Linked DNA regions of Homo sapiens: region 1 is linked to region 2. The links are contacts of gene promoters, found by promoter capture Hi-C in blood cells and fetal thymus (Javierre and others, 2016). All regions are on one chromosome and are shown on one strand. The core of a region is centred on a gene start or on the middle of the fragment in contact, and the rest is flanking DNA. Distances in the headings are between cores, read along the strand shown.

The links. The method cuts DNA at HindIII sites, captures the fragments that hold promoters and counts their contacts. A CHiCAGO score of 5 or more calls a contact.
Region 1: the fragment with the promoter of MPV17L2 here is called in contact with the fragment with the promoter of COPE in region 2 in 1 of 17 cell types (total CD8 T cells); the score reaches 6.7 in total CD8 T cells.

Annotation. Positions count from the first base shown.
Region 1 is chr19:18,188,083-18,195,037 of GRCh38, forward strand. It overlaps MPV17L2 (MPV17 mitochondrial inner membrane protein like 2), which reads left to right and starts at 5,136. Exons shown (of 5, transcript NM_032683.3): 1 at 5,136-5,386; 2 at 5,782-5,952; 3 at 6,695-6,771; 4 at 6,876-6,955. The coding sequence starts at 5,200. RefSeq lists a silencer at 4,661-4,840 and an enhancer at 5,231-5,280. The HindIII fragment of the contact is 3,564 bases long and covers 4,125-6,955 here.
Region 2 is chr19:18,916,408-18,923,200 of GRCh38, forward strand. It overlaps COPE (coat protein complex I subunit epsilon), which reads right to left and starts at 2,980. Exons shown (of 10, transcript NM_007263.4): 1 at 2,816-2,980. The coding sequence starts at 2,941. DDX49 (DEAD-box helicase 49) reads left to right here and starts at 3,308. Exons shown (of 13, transcript NM_019070.5): 1 at 3,308-3,449; 2 at 4,173-4,296; 3 at 5,256-5,341; 4 at 5,436-5,557; 5 at 5,919-6,106; 6 at 6,197-6,337. The coding sequence starts at 3,335. RefSeq lists enhancers at 1,190-2,080, 2,983-3,582 and a silencer at 2,713-2,902. The HindIII fragment of the contact is 20,861 bases long and covers 1-6,793 here.

The sequences.
Region 1 (6,955 bases), core at 3,886-6,385, 730 kb before region 2:
AGGCTGGTCTTGAACTCCTGGCCTCAAGCGATCCTCCTGCCTCAGCCTCCCAAGGTGCTGGTATTATAGGCATGGTCCACTGTGCCCAGCTGTCTTTCCTAAAAATAGATTTTAGTCTACCTGGGCCGGGCACGGTGGCTCATGCCTGTAATCCCAGCACTTTGGGAGGCCGAGGTGGGCGGATCACAAGGTCAGGAGATCGAGACCATCCTGGCTAACATGGTGAAACCCCCTCTCTACTAAAAATACAAAAAATTAGCCAGGCGTGGTGGCTGGTGCCTGTGGTCCCAGCTACTGGGGAGGCTGAGGCAGGAGAATGGCGTGAGCCCGGGAGGCGGAGCTTGCAGCGAGCCGAGATCGCGCCACTGCACTCCAGCCTGGGCGACAGAGCGAGACTCTGTCTCAAAAAAAAAAGATTTTAGTCTACCTGAATTAGCCCGATAAGGAAGTCCCCTCTGCTTTAACACTTACCAAAAAAAGTAACCTGAAGTTAATCAGGTTTTTCTTTTTCTTTCTTTCTTTCTTTCTTTTTTTTTTTTTTTTTTTTTGAGATAGAGTCTAGCTCTGTCGCCAGGCTGGAGTGCAAGTGGCACGATCTTGGCTCACTGCAACCTCCACCTCCCCGGGTTCACGCCATTCTCCTGCCTCAGCCTCTCTGAGTAACTGGGACTACGGGCGCCCGCCACCACACCCGTCTAATTTTTTGTATTTTTAGTAGAGACGGGGTTTCACTGTGGTCTCGATCTCCTGACCTCATGATCCGCCCACCTCGGCCTCCCAAAGTGCTGGGATTACAGGCGTGAGCCACCGCACCGGCCTTATTATTATTATTATTTTTTAAGATATTCTGTAGTTATGGATTGGAAAAATCCATATTGTCAAAATGTCCATACTACACAAAGCAACCTACAGATTCAATGCAATTTCCATCAAAATACAATACCAATGACATTCTTCACACAAAACAGAAAGAACAGTTCTAAAAAACAGTCCTAAATTTATATGAAATCACAAAAGACCTTGAATAGCCAAAACTATCCTGAGCAAACAGAACAAAACTGGAGGAATCCCATTACCCAACATTCAATTATACTATAGATCTACAGTAACAAAAACAGCATAGTACCAGCACAAAAATAGACACATACATAAATGGAACAGAATGGAGAACCCAGAACCAAATCCATACATCTACATTGAATTCTTTTTTACTATTATTATACTTTAAGTTCTGGGATCCATGTGCAGAACGTGCAGAAGGTGCAGGTTTGTTACATAGGTATGTATACACGTGCCATGGTGGTTTGCTGCACCCATCAACCGGTCATCTACATTAGGTATTTCTCCTAATGCTGGCCGGGTGCGGTGGCTCACGCTTGTAATCCCAGCACTTTGGGAGGCCGAGGCGGGCTGATCACGAGGTCAGGAGATCGAGACCAAGGTGAAACCCCGTCTCTACTAAAAATACAAAAAATTAGACGGGCGTGGTGGCGGGCGCCTGTAGTCCCAGTTACTCGGAGAGGCTGAGGCAGGAGAATGGCGTGAACCCGGGAGGCGGAGCTTGCAGCCAGCCGAGATCGCGCCACTGCACTCCAGCCTGGATGACAGAGCGAGACTCCGTCTCAAAAAAAAAAAAAAAAAAAAGAAGTTATTTCTCCTAATGCTATCCCTCCCCTATCCCACCCTCTGACAGGTCCCGGAATGTGATGTTCCCCTCCCTGTGTCCATGTGTTCTCATTGTTCAACTCCCACTTTCTTTTTCTTTTTTTTTTTTTTTGAGACAGTCTGGCTCTGTCACCCAGGCTGGAGTGCGGTGGCGCAATCTCGGCTCACTGCAGCCTCTGCCTCCAGGGTTCAAGCGACTCCCCTGCCTCACCCTCCGGAGTAGCTGGAATCACAGGTGGGGGCCACCACACCCAGTGGTTTGTTTGTTTGTTTGTTTGTTTGTTTGTTTGTTTTTTGAGACGGAGTCTCGCCCTGTTGCCAGGCCGGAGTGCAGTGGTGAGATCTCGGCTCACTGCAACCTCCACCTCCCGGGTTCAAGCGATTCTCCTGCCTCAGCCTCTTGAGTAGCTGGGACTACAGGCGTGTGCCACCGTGCCCAGCTCATTTTTGTATTTTTAGTAGAAACGGTGTTTCACCGTGTTGACCAGATTGGTCTCAATCACTTGGCCTCATGATTCGGACGCCTTGGCCTCCCTAAGTACTGGGATTACAGGCCTGAGCCACCTCGCCCGGCATTGATCAGGTTTTTTTTGTATTGTTCTGTTTATTTGTCCCACTTTACGAAACTCACTGTTCTCCTATTGCCCAGGGGGACATGTCATTTTATCTATTCTCAGTAACTCATGCCTGTAATTCCAGCACTTTTGGATGCAAAAGTGGGCGGATTGCTTCAGTACAGTTCAAGGCTAGCCTGGGCAACATAGTGAGACCCTGTCTCTACTAAAGAGGAAAAAAAAACAAAACCTTTCTTTAAATAAAAGTTTTAAATTGGGGGAAGGAAGGAAGAAGGCTCTATCTCAAAAAAAAAATCAGAAAACCATGAAGGGTGTCCTCTGACTGGGCAAATTTTTGTTGTAAAAACCCATATTGTAGGCTGGGCATGGTGGCTCACTCTTGTAATCCCAGCACTTTGGGAGGCCGAGGCAGGTGGATTTGAGATCAGGGGTTCAAGACCAGCCTGAGTAACATGGTGAAACCCCGTCTCTACAAAACTACAAAAAATAGCTAGGCATGGCGGCGGGTGCCTGTAATCCCAGCTACTCATGAGGCTGAGGCAGGAGAATCGCTTGAACCTGGAAGGCAAATGTTGCTGTGAGCTGATATTGTGCCACTGCACTCCAGCCTGGGCAACAGAGTAAGACTCCGTCTCAAAAAAAAAAAAAAGCCATATTTCAGTTTTACTTTTTACAGGCCAACAAATGGCATGATTGTGTTTCAATGACGTTTGGCTTATTCTATGACCTGAAAATTATATGAAATGCAAATTTGTGTCCATAAGTAAAACTTTATTGAAACACAATCATGCCATTTGTTGACAAAAAGAGTGAAACTCTGTAAAATATGGGCCGGGCGCGGTGGCTCACGCCTGTAATCCCAGCACTTTGGGAGGCCGAGGCGGGCGGATCATGAGGTCAGGAGATCGAGACCATCCTGGCTAACACGGTGAAACCCTGTCTCTACTAAAAATATAAAAAATTAGCCGGGTTTGGTGGCGGGAACCTGTAGTCCCAGCTACTCGCCAGGCTGAGGCGGGAAAATGGCGTGAACCCGGGAGGTGGAGCTTGCAGTGAGCCAAGATCGCGCCACTGCACTCTAGCCTGGGCCACAGAGCGAGACTCTCTCAAAAAAAAAAAAGAAACTCCGTAAAATATTTAAAGAGGTTAATTCTGAGCCAAACGTGAGTGACCACGGCCCTAGGCACAGCCTTTTTTTTTTTTTTTTTTTTTTTTTTTTGAGACAGTCTCGCTCTGTGGCCCAGACTGGAGCTATCTCGGTTCACTGCAACCTCCACCTCTCGGGTTCAAGAGATTACCCTGCCTCAGCCTCCCGAGTGGCTGGGATTACAGGCGCCCACCACCACGCCCCTGGCTAATTTCTGTATTTTTAATAGAGATGGGGTTTTACCATGTTGGCCAGGCTGGTTTTGAATTCCTGACCTCAGGTGATCCAGCTGCCTCCGCCTCCCAAACTGTTTGGGATTACAGGCGTGAGCCACTGCGCCTGGCCAATCCCCACCTTCTTGACTGACCATTTAAAAAATGTAAGAAACACCTTTAGCTCATCATGAGCAGCACAAAACAGGCAGGGACAGGATTTGGCCCTGAGGCAGGAGAATAGGTCTGGAGGCAGGGAACATAAGGCCAAATCAAATGGAAACAATTCAGCTATGACAGGAAATATCTTCTCCATTTAAAGAGGGCATACATCCAGTAAATGACTTTGTAACTTTACTTCATCCTCTTCATTTACATAGGACGTACATTAAGTAACCAGTGAAAACCTCTAGAGGGCATTTAAACCCCAGAAAATTCTTAAACAGGTCTCTTGAGTCCGTATGCTCCACTGGCTCCCACCCTGCGGAGTGTACTTTCGTTTTCAATAAATCTCTGCTTTTGTTAAGCTTCATTCTTTCCTTGCTTTGTTTGTGCACTTTGTCCAATTCTTTGTTCAAGATGCCAAGAACCTGCACACCTTCAACAGTTAACAGCCCACAGGCAGTAGTTTGCGACTCTAGTAGAGAATGCATAGGGATTTCCATTGAAAATCATTTTTTAAGCCAGTTACGGTGGTTCACGCCTATCATCATCCCAGCACCTTGGGAGGCCAAGGCGGGTGGATCTCTTGAGGTCAGGAGTTCGAGACCAGCCTGGCTAACATGGCAAAACCCCTGTCTAGACCAAAAATACAAAATTAGTTGGGCGTGGTGGCCCGTGCCTGTAATCCCAGCTGTTTGGGAGGCTGCGACACGAGAATCGCTTGAACCCGGGAGGGAGAGGTTGCGGTGAGCCGAGATCGCGCCACCGCACTCCAGCCTGGGTGACAGAGCGAGACTCCATTTCAAAAAAAGAAAAAAAATAATTGTTCCCTACGGGAACGGTATAATTAGGATATAATTGTTTCTGGCCACAGATCACATCCCTTCTGGTTAAGTCCAGGAGAATCTGGAAATACGTAGGGCAACCAGGCCAGAAGGCGTTGTAACTGCCTAAGATTGACCAACCCTAACGCGGGAGGCGGGACGACGGTCACTGATTTGCCAGCGTGACGCCGGTCTGCGACTGGCCAGTGCCGTCCTGGGCGTGTCGGTAGGACGGGGCTGCGACGGTTTCCCATAGGCTGGCACAGAAAGGGGCGGGGAAACAAGAGTGCAACGTTACCAATCGGCATGCGGGACGTAACGCAATTCTTTTTTCCGATTGGTCCGTGAAGCTCGGGAGGTCGTTGGGGGCTCGACCTTGGGATAGAACGCCTGCCTTTTATTGGTCAATACTCTTCGGGCCGGGCAATGTGGCTCCCCGAGGCTGCCTGCGATTGGTGAACGCGTCGCGGCTCGGGGCGGACCTGCGGACTGAAGATCCTTATGCGATTGGCCGGGGAGCCGGAGGGGCGGGCAATTTGGGATCGACAGTGACTCGCGACTGGTCGGCGCGGCGAAAGCAGAGCGGCGCGCCGGTTCCTTGGTTCCTGAGGGCGATGGCGCGGGGTGGCTGGCGCCGGCTACGCCGCCTGTTATCCGCGGGGCAGCTTCTATTCCAGGGCCGCGCGCTGCTCGTCACTAACACGCTGGGCTGCGGCGCGCTCATGGCGGCCGGTGATGGCGTGCGCCAGTCCTGGGAGATCCGCGCCCGGCCCGGCCAGGTTTTCGACCCACGGCGCTCCGGTGAGGACGCCACGCTGCTTAGTCCTTCACCCCGGGCGACCTTTGATCCCGACACCCGACTGCGGGCCGTGACCCCTGACCCGTGGCCTCAGTCCCCCGCAGGACCCTTGCCCTGACCGCGCCTCTCCCCGGGTGTCTGTCTCCCCGCAGCTCTGGGTCTCCATCACCTCCCAACCCCCGGAGGTCTCTGCCCACTACCCAGGAGCCTCTGGAGCCGCGCCTCCTGGTGGGGCTTGTAGTGGAAGAATGCACGGGTGGGCTCTTCCGGTTTTCCCGGTGAGGCTGAGGCTCCGGGATGGCATTGGGCTTACCCAGGCCTTAGCCAGGGAGGGAGAGAGGGAATGGACTGAGGAACTTGCCGGCCCGACCCAGCCCCCTGACTTACACTCTTATAGCGAGCATGTTTGCGGTGGGCTGCAGCATGGGTCCCTTCCTGCACTACTGGTACTTGTCGCTGGACCGCCTATTCCCTGCGTCTGGCCTCCGAGGCTTCCCAAATGTCCTCAAGAAGGTCCTCGTGGATCAGCTGGTAGCCTCTCCATTGCTGGGCGTCTGGTACTTCTTGGGTAAGGAGCCTCCTAAGCCTAGGCTTTGCCTCTCATAGGTCGGGAGGGGTGGAGCCAGCTTTGTGTTAAGAAGGATGCAGAGGTGCATTTCCAATTTGCCCCCTGTTTGGGTCGCCCTGGACTAGGAGCCAGGTCACAGCGGGGACAGGACGGACTCGGCCGATGTGAACGCTGGCGAGTGTAGGAGGGACGAGGACTGTATCTGTTGGGGCTGCCCTGGGCGGGAGGTTGAGAGCATTTCCCAAAGAAGGGGACCACACTCAGTTGAGACATGAAGAGGGAACCAGCGGGCAGAGGGAACAGCTAATGCAAAGGCTCTGAGGCCTGAAGGAAGAGAAATTGAGGCTAGACTTAATGGGGTGCAACCGTGCCAGCCCTAGGCTCGGTAAAGACAGCGGTATTAATAGAGGAGTCTCTCATTCTCCACCTCCCAGCCCGGCTTCCTGGTCTGTGATGGAAAAGTAACACAACTCCCTCAACTTCAGGGTGTCTCCATTGGGGCACGTGTTTATATGTTTATAACCTCTCTTTCTCTCACTGGGACTGACTTGCTCTGTTTTGTCTCTACACCAGCTACCCTAATTCTCTGTCCATCCCATCTGAAAGTCCCTGTCCCTCTGCCCGGGGTGGGCGGCGTGGGCTCTCAGGGGCCCAACCCCGCCCCCTCCATCGTCAGCCCATCTTGTCGTCTCAACAGTACTTCCTGGCCTCTAACACTCTCATTTCTTGGTTTGCTTCCCAGGCCTTGGCTGCCTGGAGGGTCAGACAGTGGGTGAGAGCTGCCAGGAGCTGCGGGAGAAGTTCTGGGAATTCTACAAGGTGGGAGCACCCGCCCCTTGCACATGTCCGGCCCCGCCCCCTGATGGCCGCTCCGCCCCCGCCCAGCTCTGGCCCCGCCCCTCATCCCCCGCCTCTCCCCGCAGGCAGACTGGTGCGTGTGGCCTGCTGCGCAGTTCGTGAACTTCCTCTTCGTGCCCCCCCAATTTCGAGTCACCTACATCAA
Region 2 (6,793 bases), core at 1,730-4,229:
CTGTGGGAGGCTGAGGCGGGCAGATCACTTGAGGTCAAGAGTTCGAGATCAGCCTGACCAACATGATAAAACCCTGTCTCTACTAAAAATACAAAAATTAGGCCAGGAACGGTAACTCATGCCTATAATCCCAGCACTTTGGGAGGCTGAGGCAGGCGGATCATGAGGTCAGGAGTTACAGACGAGCCTGGCCAACACAGTGAAACCCCATCACTAGGAAAAATACAAAAATTAGCTGGGTGTGGTGGCACACGCCTGTAGTCCCAGCTACTAGGGAGGCTGAGGCAGGAGAACTGCTTGAACCCGGGAGGCAGAGGTTGTGGTGAGCTGAGATCGTGCCACTGCACTCCAGCCTGGGCAACAGGGCAAGACTCCATCTCAAAAACAAAAAAACAAAAAAAAAATTAGCTGGGTGTGGTGGTGGGCACCTGTAATCCTAGCCACTTGGGAGGCTGAGGCAGGACAATCGCTTGAACCCAGGAGGAGGAGGATGCCACTGCACTCCAGCCTGGGTGACACAGAGTGAGATCCTGTCTCAAAAAAAAAAAAAAAAAAAAAAAAAGTATTCCTTCACAGTCACAGTCCTGGAGGCCAGAAGTCCCAAATCAAGGTGTCAGCAGGGCCACACTCCTTCCAAAGGCTCTAGGGGAGGATACTTCCCTGCCTCTCCCAGCTTTTGGTGACTGTTACATTCCTCAGTTTGTAGCCACATTACTCCCATCTCTGCTTCCATCATCTCTGTGTCTCAAATCTCCCTCTGCCTTTTTTTTTTTCTTTTTCCAGTGGCGGGTTCTGGTGAAGACAAGAAAGCCTACTAGAAACATTCTTTTTTTCTTTTTTTTTTTTTTTTTTTGAGATAGGGTCTCACTTTTGACATAGTAAGAGCACCAACATCTCAGACAAACACTGCCACTTTAAGTTCCAGCCCCCTTTCTAGCCTCATGAATTTTAAGGAAATTTCTTTTTTCTTTTTTTTTAATAGAGAAGTCTCGCTCTTGTTCCCCAGGCTTGAATGCAATGGCTGGATCTTGGCTCACTGCAACCTCCACCTCCTGGGTTCAAACGATTCTCCTGCCTCTGCCTCCCAAGTAGCTGGGATTAAGGTGCCTGCCACCATGCCCGGCTAATTTTTGTATTTTTTAGTAGAGACGGGGTTTCACCAAGTTGGTCAGGCTGGTCTCGAACTCCTGACCTCAGGTGATCCGCCCGCCTCCCAAAGTGCTGGAATTACAGGTGTGAACCACCGCGCCCGGCCAGGAAATCACTTCTAACTACAAGCAGCCAGAAAGAGGAGACAGTAAAACACAGAAAGACAGCTCGGACAGAGAGAGAGTGGGAAGAAAATTTCTTGGGTAACTGCCAAACTTCACCTTCATACAACGGGCCCCAGTAAAACAGTGGGCCTTAATAAGCACATTCCTTTCCCTTCAGGTGCACTAAAATAGGCAAGCTAAAAGCAGAGTAGGGGGGTATGCCTGCAGCTGCAGAAAGATGTATGGGAGGCTGGGCACGGTGGCTCACACCTGTAATCCCAACACTTTGGTAGGCCAAGGCGGGCAGATCACAAGGTCAAGAGATGGAGACCATCCTGGCCAACATGGTGAAACCCCGTCTCTACTAAAAATACAAAAATTAGCCGGGCCATGGTGGCGCGCGCCTGTAATCCCAGCTACTCGAGAGGCTGAGAAAGGAGAATTGCTTGAACCTGGGGGCGGAGGTTGCAGTGAGCCGAGATCACGCCACTGCACTCCAGCCTGGCAACAGCGCGAGTCTCCATCTCAAAAAAAAAAAAAAAAGAAAAGAAAAGAAAAGAAAAAAGAAAGATGTATGGGAACAGACACACAACTCTCCCTCCCAGATAAGCACAACGAAGAGACACAGAAGCAGTTCAAGCCTCTGATAAACTCTCCGACCCTGAATCCTTAAAAACTCTTAGTCTGTAAAAGAGTGTTACTCTGACCCAACTCCGCCAGAAGGCGCCTCTCAGGTTTGTTTTCTCTAAAATAAACCTGTCTTGACTGGCAAGCCACCTTTCGTGTTTCTTTCCTCTTTAATTCTTACAACTTTGTCACCCAGGCTGGAGTGCAGTGGCGCGATCTCGGTTCACTGCAACCTCGGCCTCCGGGTTGAAGCGATTCTCCTGTCTCAGCCTCCCGGTAGCTGAGATTACAAGTGCCCGCCACCACGCCCGGCTAATTTTTGGTAGACTCATGGTTTCTCCACGTTGCCCAAGCTGGTCTCGAACTCCTGGGCGCATGCGATCTGCCCGCCTCGGCCTCCCAAAGCGCCAGAATTACAGGCGTTTGAGCCACTGCGCTGGGAAACTGTGTTTATCATTCTGAGTCCAGCGGAATACAGTGCCCGTCCAAAAAAGTGCTCAATGAAGAATGAATGAATGAATGGGTAAGCTCTGGGAGAAATAACCAGGCTGGTTGGGCAGGGAAACGTCCTTCTCTGAACTTTAGGGTTCTCATCCGTAAAATGAGGATAAGCAACAGTCTCCATCTCACGGGAACTGAAGGTATGGCTGAACAAAATAGGCTTATTGTCACTACAGTGGCATAAACACCTCCCTTACTCAAAACACTTTCAAGGGCGCAGAGAGAACGCTGTACGAGTGAGCAGTACCGTAAACTGTTACTGCTCTGGGTTCTGTCACGGGACAGTGACTACTCCTCACTGAACTGTGGAAGAGGTGGCCCAAAAAACGCGAGAAGAAAAGAGAAAGTTTTTAGACGCAGAACGCGGCTCGCGGCCACCAGAAAGCGTCCTCCGCCTCCGCCCCCAGCGTCCCCGCGCCCCTGCGCGGCCGCACCTTCACCCGCTGCGCCTCGTTTATGCACTGCTGGTAGCTGCCGATGTAGAAGGCGTTCTTTACGTCGAACAGCTCGTCTACCTCCCCGGAGCCGCCGGAGGCCGGGCCGGGGGCCGGAGGCGCCATTTCGCTGTCTTCTCACCAGCTCCTCTTCCTGAAAGACACGTCAGCCGGAAGCAAGACACGGGCACGCTAGGAAATGTAGTTTACTTTTTCCGAGCGGCGGCGAAGTAAGCCAATGGGAAGCTCCACAATAATATGCAAGGGGGCGGAAGGCGTAAGTGCGTCACGGAGAGCATCTCGGGAATTGTAGTGTGTTTCTGCAAGCCAATGGGATCCGGGGAAACATGATAAGGATGCGGTCGAGGCTGGGAATAGGCTGAGGGAGCTGGAGAGGGTGGGACCACGCAGGAGGCAGATCCAATAAACAGGAAGATTTTTCTCGTGACGTCGTCGGCGCGCGCCGGAAGCGCGGATCACACGGGCCCCTACAAGGGGCCCCTACAAGCGGCCACAAGGATGGCAGGCTTCGCGGAGCTCGGGCTGTCATCGTGGCTCGTGGAACAATGTCGGCAGCTGGGTTTGAAGCAGCCCACGCCCGTGCAGCTCGGCTGCATCCCCGCCATCCTGGAGGGTGAGTATGGCCCAGGGCCTTCCCCAAGAGGCCTCTCCGCTCCTCTCGACTCCTTTCCCTTCTCGCAACCTTTGCTTATTCCGGTCCCACGAGGCGAGGGGCAACCTCGGGCGTTACAGGAGATCCGGGGTTCCGGAGGACGACTGGACAGTGTTGGCATTTAGGTTGCATGACTGACTCGCTTTGTGTTCGTACGCAAGTGATGTAATCTCTGAAATTTTCATAGTCTCAGCACAGGGAGGGTTTGATGGATGACTAGTCCGATAGTATCGCAAAATCCTGCAGACCTGGTACTGCTATCTTTATTTTACAAATAGAAGTTGAGGCTGTCAAAATTGCTGGTAGATCCAGGACTCCTTGGTCCTGTGATTGCTCCTCTAGGAGAAGGTCTTCTCTCTGCTCCTCTAGCCCAACCCAGTTTCGCCATTAAAGAGAGGCCCACAGGAAGCCTAAGATGTGATAAGTCAGGGATTAAATAAACAAATGAAGGGGTCAACAGGGAGCACAAGATGCATATGAGGGAAGGGAATTCTGGATTCCCCAAATTCACGTGCTCCTGGACGGAGTTAGAACGAGGTGGTAGGAAGCTGTGGGCATCTCGGGTCAAATGGATATGGGTTCCAGTCCAGCCTGCCACTCACTGGCAGTGTGTCCTGGGCAAGGTCTCTGAAACCCAGCTGTCCACACATGGAGGGTGTTGATGCTGCTTTGTCCCCAACCCAGGTCGAGACTGCTTGGGCTGTGCTAAGACAGGCAGTGGGAAGACAGCAGCGTTTGTCCTTCCCATCTTGCAGAAGCTGTCTGAGGATCCCTATGGCATCTTCTGCCTCGTCCTGACACCCACCAGGTAAGCCCCCAGCAGGCCTCCTGGGTATGGGTTAACCAGCTGTGCTCTCTTGGGCAAGCACCTTTCCCTCTCTGAGCGCCCTTTTCCCACGTGTGAGATGAGCATGAAAATCTTGCTACCCGCTTCTTAGGGGTCCTGCAGAATTAAACAAGATGGCCCCGGTGCAGTGGCTCACACCTGTAATCCCAGCACTTTGGGAGCTCCAGGTGAGCGGATCACTTGAGGCCAGGAGTTTGAGACCAGCCTGACCAACATGGAGAAACCCCGTCTCTACTAAAAATACAAAAAATTAGCTGGGCATGGTAGCGCATGCCGTAATCCCAGCTACTCGGGAGGCCGAGGCAGGAGAATCGCTTGAACCCAGGAGGCGGAGGTTGCGGTGAGCCAAGATCGTGCCATTGCACTCCAGCCTGGGCAACAAGAGCAAAACTCTGTCTCAAAAAAAAAAAAAAGAAAGAAAGAAAGAGGCAGGCAGCAGAAAGGGTACTGGGACCTGGGCATATTGGAGCCAGTTTGAGAAAGGCCTTGAATGCCAGGCGGAGGGTTAGAATTGATTCTGGGGGTGTGTGAGCAGGAAAGGTCATGAGCCAGGGAGAGGCCAGGACAGAGTTGGTTGGGGGCAGAAAGGAGGCTGATGCTTGAGACCCTCTGGCTGGGGCAACTGGCTGGTGGTGAGGCCATTGCTGAAAGGCGAACTGGGGGAAGGCACAGGTTTGGGATAGGAAGAGATGCTGAGGTCAGCTTGGGTCGGGCTGGTGAAGGAGGGATGTTCCAGGCTGAGCCTGGCGAGGGGGCAGGGGCCACAATGGCCTCCAAGGCTCAGCATCAGAGCCTTTGTGAACAGGACTGGGCAAGTCAGGAGCCTGGGGGCTCAGGGAGGAACCCTGGGGATGGAGAGGGGAATGGGGGGCAGGTCCAGAACCACTACCTGACCCAGCCTGGCCCCTTCACACCCACAGGGAGCTGGCCTACCAGATCGCAGAGCAGTTCCGGGTCCTGGGGAAGCCTCTAGGGCTGAAAGACTGCATCATCGTCGGTGGCATGGGTACGGGAGCTGGGAGGCGGGGGAAGCCCCAGCATGGGACCCTAGCAGCTTTGGACCACCTGCCCAGCCCTGCCTCTCATGCTCTGTCCCCCAGACATGGTGGCCCAGGCGCTGGAGCTCTCTCGGAAACCACACGTGGTCATCGCCACGCCGGGGCGCCTGGCAGATCACCTGCGCAGCTCCAACACTTTTAGTATAAAGAAGATCCGCTTCCTGGTGAGTTCGCCCCGCCCCTGCAGACCTCAGGAGCTGGGCTCGGAGCCTCCAGGCCCAATGTCAGAGCCTGGGGCACCATCTCATCCATTTAGGAAACGTATGTCCGTTAGACTGTCCAGTAAAACGCTAGGAACAGTGACAAGGACCGTTCAAGGACCAACAAGAGGGGGCCCAGTCCTAGCAATGTTATTCGGGGGTAGGGCCTTGCTGAGACTTGGGTGAGGGGCAGGCCTCCCTTGGAAGGAGGGTACTCCAGGGCCTAGGGTCCATGTCCATGCCTCTCAAAGAGGCCTGCTTCAGGGGTGGCCAAGACCCGGGGCCATGGACGGCACCCTCACCCCTGCCCCCATTGGCACGGCAGGTGATGGATGAGGCAGACCGGCTGCTGGAACAGGGCTGCACTGACTTCACCGTGGACCTGGAGGCCATCCTGGCGGCTGTGCCGGCCCGCAGGCAGACACTGCTGTTCAGCGCCACGCTGACCGACACACTCCGGGAGCTGCAGGGTCTGGCCACCAACCAGCCCTTCTTCTGGGAAGCACAGGCCCCGTGAGTCCACAGCCCAGACAGCGTGGGGAGGGCAGCCCCATCCTACAGACAGGGACACTGAGGCGTGGCGGTCTATCTGTCCATCCCCAGGGTGAGCACCGTGGAGCAGCTGGACCAGCGCTACCTGCTGGTGCCTGAGAAGGTCAAGGACGCCTACCTGGTCCACCTGATCCAGCGCTTCCAGGATGAGCACGAGGACTGGTCCATTATCATCTTCACCAACACGTGCAAGTGAGCGGGGCCCGCCTCTCCCCTCCCACCGCCCTTCAAAGGAGGAGGTGGCCCGACGTCTTTGGTCTGGGACACACAGCCAGTCTCAGCACTCCCCAGCCTCTGCTCAGCCTGGAGGTCATGGGGGCTTCCCTCAAGGAGCCAAGGTCCCTCAATCTGAAGGTGCAGCCGGCCTTTGGGGTTCCTCAGCCCAGCCGTTGATGGAAGGGCCAGGAAACCCCTGCAAGCAGCTGTTTGAGCAGCCCATTTGCTGTGTTCTGGGGGTGTCACTGAGCTTTCCTGGGCCTTTAGTCCCATCTCAGAGGAAGTTGTGACAACTAACAGGCCTGGTGTGCGTCTGCACAGACAGAGACCCCTGGGGAGGGCAGTTCATATCTTCATTGAATTGTTTGGGAAGGTCATTGAGAAGCTGGAGGCTCTTCCAGCATGAGCCAGGATAGAAGGGCAGAAATCAAG